2 separate regions of the Homo sapiens genome follow, and region 1 is linked to region 2. The links are contacts of gene promoters, found by promoter capture Hi-C in blood cells and fetal thymus (Javierre and others, 2016). All regions are on one chromosome and are shown on one strand. Each heading gives the region's core, a stretch centred on a gene start or on the middle of the fragment in contact. The rest is flanking DNA. Distances are from core to core; before and after follow the strand shown.

What was found. Contacts are between HindIII fragments. The CHiCAGO score rates a contact against its expected background, and 5 or more counts as called.
Region 1: a fragment that was not itself captured here is called in contact with the fragment with the promoter of TREH in region 2 in 1 of 17 cell types (naive CD4 T cells); the score reaches 5.7 in naive CD4 T cells.

What each region holds. Positions count from the first base shown.
Region 1 is chr11:118,770,524-118,774,414 of GRCh38, reverse strand. All of the region lies in intron 4 of DDX6 (DEAD-box helicase 6), which reads left to right. Among named protein-coding and RNA genes, the nearest start is that of DDX6, 19 kb to the left of the region's middle. The HindIII fragment of the contact is 1,291 bases long and covers 1,721-3,011 here.
Region 2 is chr11:118,677,036-118,681,029 of GRCh38, reverse strand. TREH (trehalase) reads left to right here and starts at 1,380. Exons shown (of 15, transcript NM_007180.3): 1 at 1,380-1,491. The coding sequence starts at 1,403. RefSeq lists enhancers at 829-1,488, 1,489-2,150. The HindIII fragment of the contact is 8,736 bases long and covers 1-3,994 here.

The sequences.
Region 1 (3,891 bases), core at 1,117-3,616, 92 kb before region 2:
TACATTGACAGGCTGGAACCAGATATACTACAGATTGCTCCCACAACGTATTTCTAGAGCCATCTGTGACCAGTTCTAGGTCTGGATGCTGTGGCCAGTAGAATAATTGCCATTCTAAAGGTATAGCTTTATAGGAACCTAGACTTCTTTGGAAGGCTTAAGAATATACTGTTTTTGTCTGCTTAGCATTATTTGAAACTTTATATTAACTTTGGGGTTATGATTGAGAAAGATGGCCTCTCTCGTTGCTTCTAAACCCTGGGAACACCTCTTGAAGACTTTTTCGAAACTCTAAGAAGGTGAAGAAATGAGAAGTAGTTGATTATTGAGGGAAACATGGAAGCTCCGTACTGTTGGCAACAAAATTTTGTGCCAGGTCAGCTAAGGTCTAATGAGGATTAATAGTTTACTATTTATAGTTAGGAATTATAGCATTCTGAATCCTGTAAATAAGTCATTCTTCCTGCTAACAATCGGTTTATCATGATTGAAAAAAATATTTCCTAAAAACTCAAAGGTTTTTTTTGTTTGTTTGTTTTGTTTTTTTTTTTGGTGTGTGTTTTGTTTTGTTTTCTTTTTGGGTGGGGTCGGGGAGACAGAGTCTCAGTTTGTCACACTGGCTGGTCTTGAACTCCTGGCCTCAAGCAGTTCTCCTGCCTCAGCCTTGCAGAGGGTTGAGATTACAGGTGTGAGCCACCATCCCCAGCCTAAATTAGAGATATAATTAGAAATTACCATCTCCCTTTTTTTTTTTCCTGTTAAGCAGGGGACATTTGTAACAATCATTGCTACCTCGTCTGGAGTAACCATAGGTTGTTTTTTTGTTTTGTTTTATTTTGTTTTGAGACAGAGTCTCGCTCTGTCGCCCAGGCTGGAGTGCAGTGGTGCAATCTTGGCTCACTGCAAGTTCTGCCTCCTGGGTTCACGCCATTCCCCTACCTCAGCCTCCCAAGTGGCTGGGACTGCAGGCGCCTGCCACCACGCCCGGCTAATTTTTTTGTATTTTTTTAGTAGAGACGGGGTTTCACCATGTTAGCCAGGATGGTCTCCATCTCCTGACCTCATGGTCTGCCCACCTCGGCCTCCCAAAGTGTTGGGATTACAGGCGTGAGCCACCGCGCCCGGCCTTTAACCATAGGTTTTTTTTCCCTCTTGGAAATTAAGGTTTGGAAAATAAGAGGAAGCAGTCAGTGTAAATGCAGCTAGTTGGGTGATGTTGAGCTTTTGTTGGTACCACACTTTTGTAAAATGCCTCTCAATGCTAGGAGATTGGAAAATAAACCATTCTTTAATTATAGGCATCAGAAACCAACTCGATCTAACTTAAGCAAAAGGAAATTTATTGGAAAAATAACGGGAATTCACAAGATTGAGAAGGCTAGAGAAACATACTTGGAAATGACTAAGAATTGAGATAGCTCTGAAGGACTTAGGAAGCTGTAATGGATGCACTATAACAATTTAGATTCTTAGGAGGCAACATTCCGCTGGCCCAGTGTGGGCTATGTGTCTACCACTTGGCTTAGAAAATTGGTGAGGCTTGGTCTGTTGGGACAGGGGAGACCAGGGCATATGTAATTCCTTAGAAGGAAATTGGGGTGTTACTTAGTAAAGGGATACTAGAGTAACCAAAACACAACAAATACTCTTCAGTCATTATCTAAACGTTACAGTGAATGTGAATTTGGAGACCTAAGGTGGCAGATGTCAGCCCTAAGCTTGTGGGGTTGGTTTTTTGGGGTTTTGTTTTTTGGGGGTAATAGCTTTATTGAGATATAAATGACATCACACATCAAAAGTATACAATTTAATGCTTTTTAGTGCATTTAGAGTTCTGCAACCATTACCACAATAAATTTTAGAACATTTTGATCAGTCCCACAAAAGAAACCCTTTTAGCAGTCACACCTCATTTTCCCACACCCCTAAACAACCACTGGTATACTTTCTGTCATTCTAGCTTTGCCTAGTCTGGACATGTCATATAAATAGAATCCTATAGTATGTGTTTTTTTTGTGACTGGCTTCTTTGACTTAGCGTAATGTTTTCCGAGTTCATCTGTGTTGTAGCTTGTATCAATATTCCATTCCTTTTTCCTGAATAATATTTTATTGTATGGCTCTATTACTTCTGATTTATCCAGTCATCAGTTGGTAGACATTTGGGGTTGTTTTCCAAGGACTGAGGATTTAATGTGCTATTTTGTGAAAATCTGAGAAGTAGGAAGGGGATTTAATGATCTCAACTGTCATCCGTCTGAAAAACCTAACTTGTGATTTTAAATAAAATAGCAGGCTGCCTTCCCCTGTTCCCTTTTTAAAATAGGAACTGACCCTGCTTTAACCTTATGAAGTTTTATTTATGAATAAAGTTTGTACTATTATAAAAAAAAACATAGAAGGAACTGGCTATTAAGGATAATGCTGCTATGAAAATTCAGGTGCAGGTTTTTGTGTGGAGATGTTTTTATTTCTCTTCGCTGTATACCTAGAATTGCTAGTTCATATGGTAACTCTTTTTAACCTTTTGAGGAACTGCAAGGCTGGTTTCCAGCGTAGCTGTACATTCCCACTAGCAGTGTATGAGAGTTCCATTTTCTCCAACTTCTTGCCTACATGTTATGTGCAGATCTAAGTTCAAATACTGGCTAAAGCATTTCTTGCTTTGTGACCTTGGGCAAACTAATCCTGTTTAGGATCCATTTTGTCAGTTGTAAAACAAAGTACCTAACTTGAAAGTTGTGCTGAGCACATAGTAAGTTTTAAAAAAAGTTTTCGTTTCCTTCCTCCTTTGCCTTCTCCCTGGCAGTTCCTCATAATTTCCTCTTGTATTTCACAGCTTTTTGAACTTGACTTGAATTCTCTTGCTTTTCATTATTTCCTGAGAAACACTGGTAAGAGGCAGTGTGGATGTGCTGAATTCACTGACTGTTAATCATAATGGCCATCATATAAGGCAAAATATCAGGGTGTCTTAACTTACAGTCTATCACATGTACTTTGTTAAAGCTTTATCCTTGAACAGTTTTTGTAGGGTATAATCCCTGTCAAAGAGGGCAAAGGAATAGAAGTCAATGGCCTTAATCAAGTCAGTCAAAAGATGAACTGAAAAGGGGGATTAGGATACCTCTAGTCTAATTCTGTTCTGCCTCACTTGATTGAAAAAAAGGTTTACACTTTAAAGAACCTGACCCAGCAAGTCGTTATGAGACCATCAGAGACCACCTATCTTACTTTTTCAATACTGTAAAACTGAGTAGTGTGCAGGCAGCCTGTTAAAAACTACAGACTACTGGCACCACAGAACCACAAAAGAGAAAACCTGAGGTGACAGGGTAATGGGAGCCTCTGGAACAACTGGAAATAATGGTTCACTTATCTGTGATGAGGGAAGAAATTTAAGACCAAAGGGTTAAAGCCAAGGTTTTCTTCTTTGTTTGCTTTACCTTAATAAGCAGAGTCTTTAATGCTGGCTGTAAGAACAAGACAACAGTATTTTCTTTTCTTTTCTCTCTCTTTTTTTTTTTTTTTGTGAGACTGAGTCTTGCTCCATTGCCCAGGCTGGAGTGCAGTGGCGCAATCTTGGCCCACTGCAACCTCCTCCTCCTGGGCTCAAGCAGTTCTCCTACCTCAGGCTCCCAAGTAGCTGGGACTACAGGTGCGCACCATGACCATTTTTGTATTTTTAACAGAGATGGGGTTTCACCATGTTGGCCAGGCTGGTCTCGAACTCCTGACCTCAGGTGATCTGCCTACCTCAGCCTCCCAAAGTGCTGGGATTACAGACATGAGCCATCGTTCCCAGCCAACAACAATATTTTCACAGTTGTTCTGGCAGCTGTGTTGTTCTGACCATATGGAACCCATTTATATCCTGTGATTGGAGCTCTA
Region 2 (3,994 bases), core at 131-2,630:
AGACAGAGACTTACTCTGTCGCCCAGGCTGGAGTGCAGTGGCATGATCTCGGCTCACTACAACCTCTGTCTCCCGAGTTCAAGCGATTCTCCCACCTCAGCCTCCTGAGGAGCTGGGATTACAGGTACCCGCCATCATGCCCAGCTAATTTTTGTATTTTTGTAGAGACGGGGTTTCACCATGTTGGCCAGGCTGGTCTTGAACTCCTGACCTCAGGTGATCCACCCGCCTCGGCCTCCCAAAGTGGTGGGATTACAGGCATGAGCCACTGCACCCAGCCTGAATCTGCTTCTTAAGCTCACAAACTTCTCTGCTGGTTCCACTTTGGGGAATTACAAGGAATTACATTCCTTGGCTTGGCAAAGACCATTTCCAGACTGGTGCCAACATGTTCCTCCAGTCTATCTCAAAACCCTTCCCTGCATGAACACCAAGTTCTCTGCAGCTAGGCTGAGGGGTTTGCTCTTCTCTTCACATGCTCTGCATACATTGTAGTGGTCTCCAGCCCATTTCCCTTGGCAAACTCCTATGCGGTCATCAAGACTCATTAGGACTGGCGCAGTGGCTCACGCCTGTAATCCCAGCACTTTGGGAGGCCAAGGCGAGCAGATCATGAGGTCAAGAGATTGAGACCATCCTGGCCAACACAGTGAAACCCCGTCTCTACTAAAAATACAAAAATTAGCTGGGCGTGGTGGCGGGCACCTGTAGTCCCAGCTATTCAGGATGCTGAGGCAGGAGAATTGCTTGAACCCGGGAGGCGGAGGTGGCAGTGAGCTGAGATCACGCCACTGCACTCCAGCCTAGCGACAGAGTGAGACTCAGTCTCAAAAAAAAAAAAAAAAAGACTCATTACAAATGACACACTATTGTGGGTCTCCCTTAGTCCTCCCCAGACAGAATGGTTCTACTGTCCTGTGCTTCCGCTGTATCTCTTGCAGATAACAGTGAGAGGCCCTGAATTTCACACCACACCAGGGACAGGATCTTGAGCCATTCCATTTGAAATGTTAAGGGAAATGGTAACTCTCTGAGGTTGGTGGTCTTGGGGCCACCCAAGGAACCTGGCATCCAGGTTACAGGTGTGTGGCCTCGACTGTGTCCCTGGCCTTTGGGTGCCCACTCCCCACCCCCACCACCATGCTCTGAGGGAAGGGCCTGAGCCATTGGCACCAGCTGAGACTGTGAAATAGAAGAGGCAAAGTAGAAGCAAGGGAGGTGGCCACTGTGCCCTGAGAGCAGGAGGGGCAAGCGGGCCACACACAGACCAAGCACACGTCCCCTCAGGTGGCCACGCCTCAAAGGCTGGACTTTGGCCGACTTGGACAGGCAGGTGAGCCAGGCTGTGCCCAGCAAGCCGAAGGTGCCTGGGCTTGCTCATTCAGTCACAGTCACAGCCACCATGCCAGGGAGGACCTGGGAGCTGTGCCTGCTACTGCTGCTGGGGCTGGGACTGGGGTCCCAGGAGGCCCTACCCCCACCCTGTGAGAGGTAGGGGTGTGGGGAAGGCAGCAGGGGAGGATGGCAATAAGAGGGAGGCTGGGATGAGATCTCAAGCTCTGGGGTCGGTACTTCAGAGGGAAAGGAAGAGATTATAAAGGAAGGAAAGAGTAGGGAAGAGAAGAAAATGAGAATTCCTATGTAGCAGGCTCTGTGCTGGGCACTGCACCTGCAGTCCGTTTTTTTTGTTGTTGTTGTTAGAGTCTTGCTCGGTCGTCCAGATGGAGTACAGTGGCACCATCTCCACTCACTGCAGCCTAGACCTCCCGGGTTCGAGAGATTCTCGTGCCTCAGCCTCCTGAGTAGCTGGAATCACAGGCATGCACCACCACGCCCAGCCTGTCATTGATTTTTACCAAAATTTTCCACCGTTGGAAGGGACATTAGGCTTGGCGACTGTGCTGGGAATACAAGCGTGAGCCACCGCCCCCTGTCGGGACCTGCAGTCCTGATACCAGACGCAGCTGCCAGAGCCTGGCCTGAGGTCCAAGAGCCTGCTGGCCAGAGCCCGCCCTCCCTTCCTCTCCTCCTCCAAGCTGCCCCTTGAACTGTGCAGGCCTCTTCTCAGGATTGTTCTAGCAAACTTTCTGCTCCAGCTTCCTAGTCTGGGTGTGAGAGGCAGCCTAAGGGCCTGAAGACAGCACTTGGGCTTGAGCCCTGACCCTCATATTCTCTCTGTGACCCAGGGCAGGTCAAGGCTCTTTCCTGAGCCTGAGTTTCCATCACCAGGGACAGAGATGAGTGACCCTGTCCTGTCTCCTGGACTCAGGCGATGTCCACCCTTCGTTCCACATGGATTTATGGAGCTGTGGCCACATCAGCCACTTTACCAGCTCCTGCAAGAACAATAATAATAGAAGAAAAACAGCTGGGCACGGTGGCTCATGCCTGTAATCCCAGCACTTTGGGAGGCCAAGGTGGGAGCTATCATCTGAGGTCAGGAGTTCGAGACCAGCCTGGCCAACATGGTGAAACCCCATCTCTATGAAAAATACAAAATTAGCCGGGCATGGTGGCGCACGCCTGTAATCCCAGCTACTCGGGAGGCTGAGGCAGGAGAGTCGCTTGAACTTGGGATGTGGAGGTTGCAGTGAGCCAAGATCATGCCATTGCACTCCAGTCGGGGCAACAAGAGCAAAACTCTATCTCAAATAATAATAATAATAATAATAGAAGCAAAACAGTAACAGAAGCACAGTTTGAAGTAGAGAGAAGTTAGGGCCCGCTGGTGTGGGTGAGCAGAGGGTGTGTTAGAGAGGATGGGGAGGGACGGTGTCTCTGAGGAGGTGATGTGTAAGCAGAATTGTGGCAGGAACCATTGCTGAGCTGATCTGGGAGAGGACAGTCCAGGCATGGAAAGGGCCATGCAGAGGCCCTGACGCACTGTTCAGGGATTGGGACGAAGGCCTGTGTGATTGGGGCAGAGTGGGAACAGGTCCGGGGAGAGCGGGGCTCCAGGCAACAAGGTTTGGGCTTGGGTTCCAGTGGTTAGACTAGAGACAGAGACAAGGGGTTCAATAGAGGGTGTGTGTTACAGGGAGAGTTGACAGTGCTTGCCCATGACAATTGTGGAATATAAAGGGGAAAAGTGTACCTGGGATAATTAATAGGTTTTGTCCTGAGCAATTGTAATGAGGACTTCAGAGAGGCTGGGTGGTCCAGTGCTTTGTCAAGCATTAGGCTGTTTGCCAAATGTAGGGGAAGATGACTTTACTGGTGTTCCCTAAGACCAACCTCAGGCCAGTGATTCACTAACACTTCCAAATGGTTATACCATGATTATGGTTTCATTTTTTTTCTTTTTTTGAGACAGAGTCTCGCTCTGTCGCCAGGTTGGAGTGCAGTGGTGCAATCTCGGCTCGCTGCAACCTCCACCTTCTGGGTTCAAGCGATTCTCCTGCCTCAGCCTCCCCAGTAGCTGGGACTACAGGCACCTGCCACCACGCCCAGCTAATTTTTGTATTTTTAGTAGAGACAGAGGTGTTGCCATGTTGGCAAGAATGGTCTCAATCTCTTGTCCTTGTGATCCGCCTGCCTCAGCCTCCCAAAGTGCTGGGATTACAGGCATGAACCACCGTGCCCAGCCTTGATTATGGTTTCTTACAGTGAAAAGATACATGTTAAAGCCATCAAAGGTGAAATATTCTAGGGCCAAGTCCAGGAGAAAATAATCTCAATCTTCCAGTTTTTCCTCTCCCAGTGGATTTATATGGACAGGACTTGATTTTTCCAGCAATAACATGTGACAGCACGCATGAAGTATTGCCAATCACAAAAGCTCACCTGAGTCTTGGTGTCCAGTGTTTTTATTGGAGGTCAGTGATGAAAGCGTGGACTACCTGTGTGGCTGACCTCAGTTACTCACTCTCCAGAGTTCAAACTGATACTGGGCGGCCAAAGGCCCCTGCCACAAATCACATTATTAGCATCAAATATCTGGCATGGCCCAAGGCCCCAGAAAAACAAAGACTTATCAGGCAGCATATTTTGGTAA